Regions from separate parts of the Homo sapiens genome. Here region 1 is linked to region 2. The links are contacts of gene promoters, found by promoter capture Hi-C in blood cells and fetal thymus (Javierre and others, 2016). All regions are on one chromosome and are shown on one strand. The core of a region is centred on a gene start or on the middle of the fragment in contact, and the rest is flanking DNA. Distances in the headings are between cores, read along the strand shown.

Region 1 (6,145 bases), core at 1,966-4,465, 930 kb before region 2:
TACATCAAGCAAGTCGAGAGGAGCCCTAGGAAAGCTCACGCTGTTCCAAGGTGCCAGGAGCCTGGGGAGAGGGTGACGGGAAAGGCTAGCGAGTAAAGGAGCACACATATCTCTCTGTTTCCTTCCAGGAGCATGTGCCCTGCCTCAGCTGCTTCCCAGGCAGGTTTGTTCTCTGCATTGGGCTGTCTGTGGACAGCTGCTTCTGCATTTCTTTCCTAACAGGGAAAACTCCTTTCTTTCATTTTGCCACCAGATCTGCAGAGCTACTCCCAGCCCGCCTCTTGCTTATAGCAACGGACTGCCCACTTACCCCATCACGTGGCACCCCTGTCAATGCCATCTGAGCAAACAACTCACGTCCCAGGGACAGCATCATAAGCTACATACATACACAGCACACCCAGCTTCTCTGCTGAGACATTCGGGCTGTGGATTCTGAAAGTGGTGGGAATATTTCGGTTATTTTTTCACTCTAGCAATATTATTTTTAAGAAAAGCTTTATTGAGATATACATACCACAAAACTCACTTGCTTAAAATATACTCAGTGCCTTTTAGTATATTTACAGAGTTGAGCAACCACTAACATAATCTAATTTTAGAACATTTTCATCACCCCCAAAAGTAATACGGGATGTTTTCTTTTTTATTCTGAAAATATATTTACCTATTTATTTTGTTCTTTAAATCTGCACAGTAAAAGCAAAAAGAAAAATACATTAATGGATATGTTAGATTTCTAGAGTTAGTAAGAAATGCAGAGGAGTTATGGCTCTCAAAGCTGTGTATCACTTAACTGTCATGTATGGCTATAGAAATTTGTTTAACTACCCCAAAGTGTACACTTTGTTGTGGCATATACGCTTCAGTAAATGTCCAGGGCCACATCTTTGACATTTTCCAGTTTGTTATGAATTTCTCTAATGCCACATATGGCTTTTCAAGGGATTGGGTGGAGAGAGAATTGCAAATTCCAGATTGCTAATTCCCACAAGGTAATACTTTTGTAATATGCCTAGGATGGTACCACAGGCATATTGGTATTTAACACACATTTTTTTTTTGTTGTGATGGAAGCTGTTTTTTATTGACTCAATTCAATGCATGAAGTAATTGCAGTCACATGGAAGTTCTGGGTTCCTCAGACTTCTCTTTGAGACCCTGCTTGGAAAGCCAGGAAGCTTCTACCATCGATGGATAATGTGGTAAGGAGTTCAGCAGAAGGCTCTTTGAGCCTTTCTCATGGCTGGCCGAGGGATGTGCTAGAGGACAATTATCAGTCTGGCTGTAGGGGAGCTTTTTTTTCTTTTTGAGACAAAGTCTCCCTCTGTCGCCCAGGCTGGAGTGCAGAGGTGCAATCTCAGCTCACTGCAAACTCTGCCTCCTGAGTTCAAGCGATTCTCCTGCCTCAGCCTCCCGAGTAGCTGTGACTACAGGCGTGCGCCACCATGCCTGGCTGATTTTTGTATTTTTAGTAGAGATGGGGTTTTGCCACAGTGGCCAGGCTGTCCTCAAACTCCTGACTTCAAGCGATCCTCCTGCCTTGGCCTCCCAAAGTGCTGGGATTACAGGCTTGAGCCATTGTGCCCAGCCCAGAGGAGCTTTTTAAATAGCTCTATGCCTGCCCCCATCTGCAAAAATTTGAATTTAATAGTCTTGTGGTGAGGTCCTAGCAAGGGTATTTTTTAAAACCTCCAGTTTATTCTAATTTGCAACCAAGGCTGAGAACCATTGTCCTACTAGCGACTAAGCCAGGGCCATGTTAATAGGTTGAATCATGTGAAATTGTCATCTTTATAGGGCAAAGTTGAACATGGACAATTTTATATAGTTCAATCTAATATACAGGCAATTGGGTTTTATTTTCAAGGGAAGATAGCTTGGTCTTTTGGTAACCTTCTGTAGGAAGCCAGCCATCTCTCCAAGCGCTCATCCTGCTGTGAGCAAGGATGAGAAAGATGTGACAAGGAAGAAAGCCAGTGCCCTGTTGGTCCAGATGCTGCCCCTTGGTGGACCAGACCCCCTACATCTTTCCTTCCAGTGGGGCTTAGACATACAGAAGCCTGTGGCTGTCAGGCATGAAGGGAAATGAGCAAAGCAGGCCAAAGGTGAGGCAACCAGAAGGGTTGAGGGAACATGACATACCAGAGAGCCTGGTCCCTCCTTCAAAGGCATTTACATTTAAGTGTGTGTGTGTGTGTGTGTGTGTGTGTGTGTGTGTGTGTGTATACACACACATACACAGAGCAGGCCAAATCATAGACATCTATGGGTTGAAATCTAGTCTTCAGTCCTACAGTTTGTGATCCTTTCCTGGAAGGTAGATGTTTGTGGCACAGGGAGGTGACCCGAACAGAGGAAGACAAGGTACTCAACACAGTGGGACTATAAGCCCAGGGAGAAAGAACCAGTACCTCACTGATGGCTGCTGTACCCCTCTGGGGCCCATGGGTGAAATAAGGAGGCATGGCATGTAGGCAGGGAGATCCCTCAGGCAAGGGAGTACAGGGGACCACTGAAGGGAGTGTGCTAGGATTTTCAGAGATGTTAGCAACGCTTTGAAAGAAATGGTAATACCAGGCTGGTATTTTCACCATGGCAATGCACAAGAAAGGGTCTCGGCCAGGCGCAGTGGCCCACACCTGTAATCTCGGCACTTTGGGAGGCTGAGGTGGGCAAATCACCTGAGGTCGGGAGTTTGAGACCAGCCTGACCAACATGGAGAAACCCCATCTCTACTAAAAATCCAAAATTAGCTGGGCATGGTGGCACATGCCTGTAATCCCAGGTACTCGGGAGGCTGAGGCAGGAGAATCACTTGAACCCAGGAGTGAGAGGTTGCGGTGAGCCAAGATCGTGCCATTGCACTCCAGCCTGGGCAACAAGAGCAAAACTCCATCTCAAAAAAAAAAAAGAAACAAACAAACAAAAAAAAAAACCAGAAAGAAAGAAAGGGTCTCACTTAATGTGACCACCAGTCATCCAACCAAAATCATCAGTTGTCTTAGACTCATTTTTCTCACCCCCACCTCTGATTAGCACCAAGTTCTGCCAACTGTGGCTGCTAGAGAGTTCTCAATCCATCTCCTTCCTTCCAGCCACCCAACCACTGCTCATGTTCAGGCACCATTTTCTCCCCACTGGATTATGGCAACAGTTAATTTTATGTGTCAACTTGACTGGGCCATGGGATGCCCAGATAAATATTATTTCTAGATATATCTGTTAGGGTGTTTCTGGAAAAGATTAGCATTTGAATTGGTGAACTGAGTCAAGCAGATGGCCCTCCCCACTGTGCGTGGACTGCATCCAATCTGTTCAGGGTATAAACAGAACAAAAATGTAGAAGAAGGTTGAATATGTGATCTCTGACTACTTTAGCTGGGATATGGATCTTCCCCTGCCGTTGCTACCCCTGCTTCTCAGGCCTTCAGATCTGGACTGCAATCTATACCATCGGCCCTCTGGCTCTCAGGTTATACGACCAGCTTTCCTGGGTCCTCGGCTTGCAGACAGCAGATTGTGGGACTTCTCAACCTCCATATTCACGTGAGCCAATACCTTCTCATAAGTCCCTTTCTAGAGATATATGTATACATAGATCCTATTGGTTCTGTTTCTCTAGAGAACCTTGACTGATACAGATTTAATGCTATGGAATGAGTGTGTCCCCACAAACTCATAACTTAATGGTATATCATGAACAACTTCTACATTATTACATATTTTTACTACAACATTTTCTTAAATCACAACATTTTTAAAAGATCTTTGGGGCCGGGCATGGTGGCTGACGCCTGCAATCCTAGCACTTTGGGAGGCTGAGGCGGGAGGATCACCTGAGGTCAGGAGTTTGAGACCAACCTGGCCAACATAGTGAAACCCCGCTTCTACTAAAAATAAAAAAATTAGCCAGGCGTGATGGTGGGCACCCATAATCCCAGCTACTCGGGAGGCTGAGGCATGAAAATCGCTTGAACCTGGGAGGTGGAGTTTGCAGTGAGCTGAGATTGTACCATTGTACTCCAGCCTGGGCGACAGAGTGAAACTCAGTTTCAAAAAAAAAGATCTTTGGTATTCCATGCTGAGGTTATACTGAGGTTTGTTTAGCTGGTTCCTTTTAAGTTAGACATTTAGGCTGCTTACATTGAGACTTTTTACATAAAGGTCATAGGGCAGAGAGGCATAACAGAGATGGAGGTGTTCTCCCAGGACCCAGGCACATGTGACACAGAGGGAACTTGTCACAGATACAGCACAGTTCCACTCCAAGGGCTCCTGGAGAATCCATAAGCAACTGGAATTATCCTCTTTGATGATTCATCCAGATGTCAAGGGCAGAACACCCTCTGGCCTTCTTAGCTAGCTGCCTGCTAATCAGCAGCTTACTCAAGAAAAGGCAAAGTTCATTATCTTTCACACGTCTGCAGTTTTTCATTTTTCTCCTTTCTCCTCTTTTCCTATTTCTTATTTTGGCTCTGATATATGAAATAAAGCTATTTTTGGTTTCCCTTGTATTCAAGTAAATGGTGCCCTAATAATTAACCCTATGTCTTTGAATTATTCTTTGATACTATTATACACAGTCTTTCTGTGATCATTCTTGTAGCAAATTGGTGTGCTTATTCAGGACTGTGTTCCATGGCACTAACTTCTGGTGGATGCTGTGTGACTGTATTGCCCTATCTGACTCTAGCCCACAATGTGAAGGAAGGCAGCTTTCAGCATCACAGGTTATAAAATGCACCAAAGAATGACATAATGACACAGAAATAAATATAGAATGCTCAATGAAAAGCTAAGTACTGGAGAAACTTACAAGGAAAATGAAAATAATTCCAGCCCTGCAAATCTTACCTTCCTCCATACGCAAACACAGACTGGCAATTCACAAGTAAATGCAAGGTTTTCAATATCCAACAGTTTGTAGTCATGAAAAAAAAGTCAAAAGTAAAACACTCCGTACAGTGCCTTTCCTTGTCCTTTTTAAAGCTCAAAAGAGGCTCAAGCAACAACATTCTCCTTCTGAGTTGAAACCAACAGGAGCTGAGGCTGCCCTGGGACAGTGGCCCTTTTATGAACTGGGAGTGAAGACCGGGCTTATTCACAGGACTTGTGGGGCAGTTGGACCACACCCTTTCTGGGCTGCTTGCCAGTGTGTGGTTTGGGCTGGGCCTTGATGGGATTGCTGATCTCCAGAGGGCAACATGGGGTGTGCATTTGAACCAGCCTTCCTTCGGGGAAGCTTTAACGTCAACTATGAGATGTGGCTCTTGATAGATTTTCAATCCCCATTTCCTGAGCTGCTGCTGCATGCTGGGCCTGGGGACAATAAGGACACCTTGCTGGCCTGTGCAGGATCCCAGTCCAGTGGGAAGATTGACACATAGGCCCAGAATCACAGTAAAATTCTGCCATCATTTGTATAACAGACATCTACTGGTCAGCTCTTTTTGCCAGCTCCACGATTCCAAAAGAGGAAGGGTTTCGTAGAGGCTGTCTGGTTGGAAAGGGGTAGCTAGGGCACTAGATGGAAGCAGTTTTTTCATAGATTATACACTGCAGCCTATAAATATAGCAAAGTTTTCCAAAGGTGTTTTTATTCATGTACATATGATTGAGAAAATGTTTCTCAGTTTCCATGTCATTACATATATTGCCACATTCTAAAATTGTTTTTCATATTTGATTATTACTTGGGGTAGTAGGGGAGGCACTAATAGATGGTAAGAGGCAGATACATTCTCCCTAAACCACTCCTCAGGCTGCATTAGGTACAGAGGATGCCATCTAACACTGCCTGCGCAGCAAGCAGGGGCTTGCGATGCAGGTGGGGAGTCAGCAAGCAAATGCAAAATACAGTACAACTTAGCAAGTGCTGCTCATGCATCTGCTTAATGGCTCATTCTTTTAGTGTTTATTGAGTGCCTACTGCAGCCAGCCACAGTGCTGGGCCCTGAGGGTGCTCCTTCTCTGAACTCACAGGGCAGTGAGTCCTAGGGGTAGGGTTGCCTGATAAAACACAGGTGGTCCCATTAAATTTGAATTTCAAGAACAATTTTTTGGTATAAGTATGTCCTATGCAATGTTTTTATTTGTTAAGTCTCACAACCCTCCCAAGGAGAGACCATAAAGAATGCAGAAT
Region 2 (6,144 bases), core at 251-2,750:
TGCCGTTTCAATATTTTGGAAAGCCACAGCTCAGTCCTGAATGCCAGGCTATAAATCCTTAAGCTATGAGTTTTCAAAACCAGCATGGTTTTAGTGCTGCCACAAGGCTCACCCTAATAGAATCTCATCATTCAGTTTTAATTAAAGAGGTGGTTACCAGGAATGCAGAAAGGGAAAGTTTTAGTGTGTTCATCACTTTTAACCTGCTGAGTGGCAACCCAGTCACTTTACAACGAGATTCAGAAACAATAGTGTAATCTGAAACAATCCACACCCGTTGGAATAAGTGGTTGCTTTTAGAGAGAGTGAGGTTCAGGCAGAGGTTATAGATTAGTCTTGCTCCCACCAAATACATAGTTTGCATTTTTTTCATTCATTAGCTTATCCTCTGCTTTTTCATAATATCTTGGTTTCCAGTCTTGCCTCATTCAACAATAAAAAGAGACGAAAATCCATTCACTTGGTTTCATGGAGTTTTTCCATCATACCTTCTTGAAGATTGATTGCCTGGCTGTTCCCTTGAAGTAATCGCCTAAGAATTACGTCTTGGATAGCCCAACTCCCGCATTAAACTTACTGCAGGTGTCTGAAGAGGTCCAAAGACCATACTGAGTGACATCCCTGCCCAAGTGATAGTCTGAAGAAACTTGTCAGAAATGCACCCCCAGAACAAAAAGGGATGTGGGAAACTGACCTAGCACGGATGAGGACTGGGAATGAGCCTGTGACTTAGGGAATGAATTTCAGCCCAAGCAAAAATAGGAAACACCAGCCTCTAAGACGGCCTGTGGTCCTTACCGTACACCCGGACCCAGCTCTGTTGCTGGCACACGGACTCCAGAAGGATCCGATCCAACATGCCACCGGCGACGGCTCCACTGACTGGGACAACCGCGTCCAGGTCCTCCGGGGGCAGCGGCGAGTCGGACTCCAGCGCCGGGAACATCTCCGGCCAGGACAGCGCCTCCGCGGCTCCTCCGGACGACGGAGAGAGCTCCATGGTGCCCCGAGGCGGGAGGGGGACGAGGCGGCGGCTTCGGGGCGGGCTGGCGCGCGGCTCCGCGCCCTGCCTGCGGTAAGGGGAGGAGGAGAGCGCGCAGCGAGGGCAGGGACCCGAGCGGCAGCCGGCGCGGACACCTCTCACCTCCTTCCCCGTCGCCCACTGCCCGAGGCTCGGGCGATGCAGCCCACCTGCAGTCGGCGGGCGGGACCCAGGCCGGGAGGAGGATCCAGCGTGGCCCCGACCAAGGGTGGGTCCGGGCTCAGGTGTGTGTGGGTCCCTCCCGGGAGAGGACGCAGAAGAACCCGGGAGGGGAGGCTCGCCCTCCCACCTCCTCGGAGCCGCCTTCTTCAGCCCCGCCGGCGTCTCTCGCGGTCAGACCAGGCTCTGGCTGGGGATGGAGCGGGGCCGGGCAGGGCTGGGCTTGGGGGCGTCGCCGCCAGGGGCCGCCCCCTCTGACCGGCTCCCGCCGCCGCCGCCTCAGAAGCTCCGAGTGCCCGTTCCCTCAGCCTGAGGAGGGGTAGGGGGCGGTGGCCCCGGGTTCTAGCCCGCCTGTCCTCGGCCCCCACTTCTGGAATGAGCCTGCCCGCCCCCTGACTCTCAGGCCACAGCTCCGGCCACAGCTCTGGCTCCTGCTCCGCGGCGGATCCCACAAACCCGGCAGCCACGGCGGTGGCGGTGGCGGTGGCGGTGGCGGTGGCGGCGGCGGCGGCGGCGGCAGCGGCAGGCGGCATCCCAGGGTGATAGGCTGAAGCAATCGAGGGCCGAGAGCCCGGCCGCGTGTGCACTCGAGTAACGAAGCCGGGGAGGGACTGCGCCGCAGGCAGGAAAAGTCGGACACCGAATTATTCATCCGGCCTGTCCCGCCTACTTTCCAAGTACCCTCCCAGGGATAGCCGGGTATTGAGCGGTCCGGGTCTCTGCTGCTCAAAGTAAAGACCGTTTGAGAAGGCGGGGAGGTAAAAGGGTGCGGGAAATTTAAACAGAAAAGAAAGGAGCTTCCCTTCCTTCTCACACCTTTCCTATTTATTTGTTTCTTTCTTTCTTTATGGGCCAACGTTTCTTTCTTATTGGACAAAGAGATCGAAGAAGCTGCTTTATCTTACAGTCACCCAAGGGGGAGCGCCTTCTTCCTTCCCAGAGTGGAGTGGCAGTGGGTCCGGGATTCTGGGATATGCACAGGGTCTGCGCCCTGCGCCCTGTCCGCGCTGAAGCTGAACTTGTCATTGGTTTGCAACAGCATGGTGAAGAAGTGTGGTGTGGATGGACGGACGGGCCTCTCAGGCACATGAAATACTCAAAGCCCAGTATTAACCAAACATGTTTCTCTGTTTTGTCTTTGATCTTTGTGCAGTGTGTTGGCTTTTTTCCTTTAATGATGTCACTTGTATTTTATTTTTGGTTTATTTGTAGACTGTCTCCCTCCTTGGCCATGGCTTTACTTTTATGTCCACCCAAGGAGAGTTTCACCAGTTTAGGTTTAAGAAATTACTGACAAGTTAACAATAATAATTTCAAAATTGAACAGTAATAACTTAAACCGTGCCTTGGACATAGTAGATCTCCAACAGTTTTTCTTGAATGTGGCTACCTAATGTGGAACAAGATTTTTCATAATTACATGTTGCTATTTTTAATACCTTTTGGGAGGTTCTTTAGTCCCCCCCGCCCTTTCTCCCTACGTTGCACAAAGAGACTGGTCTACAAGGGGTCCTGTTAGTTTTCTGGTTTTGTGGGGTCCTGGAATATTGTTTGGGCTTATTGAGAGTTAACAAGGATGTATTTTGTGAGTTTCTCCAAAGTCTTATTTAGAGTAATAGTATTTCAAAGCAAGAAGTGTTTTAGAGAGAACATCATTCTGCCTCTTGTTTAACAGGTGAGGAAACTGAGGAAAAACCAGCTTACCTGGCTAATCAACCACAAGTACAGATAGTTCCACAATGACTCAATGGATATTACTTCAACTTTGTTCCCTCAAGAAACTTTTGTGATTAAGCTTGTTGATTTGTGGCTTGATGGTTTACAGGAATGGTCATTTTTAATATCTAGGACCCTGCTTGCTTGCTTGCTTGCTTGCTTACTAGACTGGCTGCATAGTCAGTCTTCCACGTGTAAACAACAGTGTGTGCTTTAGTGGATAAGAGATGTTGAGTGCTGAGATTTCAAGGCTCAGCACTGAGTAGACCTAGAGCATTTTTATTTATACTAAATTAATGCCATGGTAACATAAGTTAGACAGCAAGTGAATATGGCATCAAATGTACAAAGTTGAGTATCTCTTTACTAGTCAATGTATAAGGAATTTATTTACCCAAGCAATTATCTTAAAAACAGCATTACAAGTGGTATGCGAAACATTTCCAGAATTTATTTCCACATCTGCTCTTTCAGTGGCATCATCCATTCCTGAGCTCAAGAAAAGGCCTCTGCCAACCGCCAGTAATCCTGCTTTTTTAGTAATCCTACTATTTTTTTTTTAACTTTAAGTTCTGGGATACATGTGCAGAACATGCAGGTTTGTTACATAGGTATACATGTGCCTATGTATACCTATGTAACATGGTGGTTACAGTAAACATGGTGGTTTACTGCATCTATCAACCCGTCATCTAGGTTTTAAGCCCTGCATTCATTAGATATTTGTCCTAATGCTCTCCCTCCCCTTTCCCCCACGCCCCGACAGGCCCCAGTATGTGATATTACCCTCCCTGTGTCCATGTGTTCTCATCGTTCAACTCCCACTTATAAGTGAGAATATGCAGAGTTTGGTTTTCTGTTGTGTTACTTTGCTTAGAATGATGGCTCCCAGCTTCATCCATGTCCCTGCAAATGACATGAACTCATTCTTTTTTATGGCTGCATAGTATTCCATGGTGTATATGTGCCACATTGTCTTTATCCAGTCTATCATCGATGGCATTTGGGTTGGTTCCAAGTCTTTGCTATTGTAAATAGCACTGCAATAAACATACATGTGCATGTGTCTTTATAGTAGAATGATTTATAATCCTTTGGGTATATACCCAGTAATGGGATTGCTGGGTCAAATGGTATTTTGGTTCTAGATCCTTGAGGAATCGCCACAGTGTCTTCCACAATGGTTGAACTAATTTACACTCCCACCAACAGTGTAAAAGCATTCCTATTTCTCCATAGCCTTGGCAGAATCTGTTGTTTCCTGACTTTTTAATAATCACCATTCTCACTGGCGTGAGGTGGTATCTCACTGTGGTTTTGATTTGCATTTCTCTAATGACCAATGATGATGAACTTTTTTTCATATGTTTATTGGCTGCATAAATGTCTTCTTTTGAGAAGTGTCTGTTCATATCCTTTGCCCACTTTTTGATGGGGTTGTTTGTTTTTTTCTTGTAAATTTGTCTAAGTTCCTTGTAGATTCTGGACATTAGACCTTTGTCGGATGGGTAGATTGCAAAACTTTCTCCCATTCTGTAGGTTGCCTGTTCACTCTGATGATAGTTTCTTTTGCTGTGCAGAAGCTCTTTAGTTGGATTAGATCCCATTTGTCAATTTTGGCTTTTGTTGCAATTGCTTTTGGTGTTTTAGTCATGAAGTCTTTGCCCATGCCTATGTCCTGAATGGTATTGCCTAGATTTTCTTCTAGGGTTTTTATGGTTTGGGGTTTTACATTTAAGTCTTTAATCCATTTTCAATAATCCTACTTTTTAAATCCAAACGTTCCAGATACTGGTCCCTGCTTCACCTCCCTATCCTGACCCCAGACTAGCAGCAGGTCATTATCTAATTGCCTAAGTAATAGTATGTCTGAAATTTATCTAGTGTTCATAACTTAAAAATAAAATACTTTCACAGGCCAGGCATGGTGGCTTACACCTATAATCATAGTGCTTTTAGAGGCTGAGGCAGGAGGACCACTTGAGCCCCAGGAGTTTGTGACCAGCCTGGACAACATAGTGAGACCCTCATCTCTACAAAAAAATAGAAAAAAATTAACTGGGCCTGGTTGCAAACACCTGTAGTCCCAGCTACTCAGGAGGCTGAGGCAGGAGAATCACTTGAGTCCAGGAGTTTGAGACTGCAGTGAACCATAATTGCACCACTACATTCCAGCCTGGGCAACAGCATGAGACCCTGTCTCAAAAAAAAGAAAAGAAAGAAAGAAAATACTTTCACAACCTGAACAATAATTCTGTGAGATAAGTAGAACCAGTATTTTAAAATCATCATTTAGAGAATTTAAAAAAAAAATTAAGCATAGAATTGTATTAAGCAACCTACCTAAACATGGCTACTTAGGAGATTGAGATTAAAACTCAAGTCCCCTAATTTTTAATTTCATTAATAGATCTGGATTCCTGAAGAGTGTTTTTCTTTGGTGTTCTGACATTTGTAGAACCAAAAATAATATTTCATGGTTTTTGCAAATTATTATCATTTAAGAAAAATATCCCAAAAAATATTGAAGAAAAAACAAAACAAAAAAGTTGGAAACCAATTTGCATTGCTGGGAGGCAGTTAATCCTACTTGAACTTACACCAGTGGTATCTCCCCAGAGCCAACCCAGATTTTAATGTGAAGATAAATCCTTGGCTGATGAAGTCTTAGTTAACACTGTAGTTTGCAAACAGTCCTTTATGTGTGAACTACAAGAAAGCTCTCACACCCCTGCCTGCCTTCTCCCCTCCTCTTTCCTCCAGGTTTCAAGCTCCCAAAGGTGATCTACATATTTACTATCATTGGAATTCATAACATCAAGAATCAGACCCAAGTCCCCGGAGAAGTGGGAACTAAAAATTGGGTAACTATCGAGGAGAAGAAATAATAGTTTTCCTATGTCTAAAAACAAATGCTGGCACAAATCTGAGGTTTCTAAAAGACAGAAAGAGGCCTTTGGTTCTGAATACACATTGCCAGTAATAAAGAGAAGTATACATTACCAATAGTCAATAATAAGGGGAGATGAGGGTTTGGAATCTTGGCTGTCACAAAACTGAGGTCCGGGTATGGGTCCAGTTTTCTTCTTCATTCACACACACACACACACACACACACACACACACACACACACACGAGGTTCCCTCTTCACAAATGCTGTTAACTATTTTCTTTCCTTTTAAGGCAGGGCCTTGCTCTGTCGCCCAGGCTGGAGTGCAGTGGCATG

Evidence for each region. Contacts are between HindIII fragments. The CHiCAGO score rates a contact against its expected background, and 5 or more counts as called.
Region 1: a contact is called between a fragment that was not itself captured here and the fragment with the promoter of RASAL2-AS1 in region 2, in 1 of 17 cell types (monocytes). The highest score is 7.2, in monocytes.

What each region holds. Positions count from the first base shown.
Region 1 is chr1:179,016,237-179,022,381 of GRCh38, reverse strand. It overlaps a transcript of FAM20B not described here. Among named protein-coding and RNA genes, the nearest start is that of FAM20B, 6.6 kb to the left of the region's middle. RefSeq lists a cis regulatory region at 4,921-5,432. The HindIII fragment of the contact is 4,064 bases long and covers 1,184-5,247 here.
Region 2 is chr1:178,089,349-178,095,492 of GRCh38, reverse strand. It overlaps RASAL2-AS1 (RASAL2 antisense RNA 1), which reads left to right and starts at 1,500. Exons shown (of 2, transcript NR_027982.1): 1 at 1,500-1,932; 2 at 2,081-3,985. It overlaps RASAL2 (RAS protein activator like 2), which reads right to left and starts at 1,389. Exons shown (of 18, transcript NM_170692.4): 1 at 799-1,389. The coding sequence starts at 1,000. RefSeq lists silencers at 951-1,010, 1,161-1,320, 1,391-1,690, 1,741-1,790 and an enhancer at 1,412-1,913. The HindIII fragment of the contact is 4,675 bases long and covers 1-2,998 here.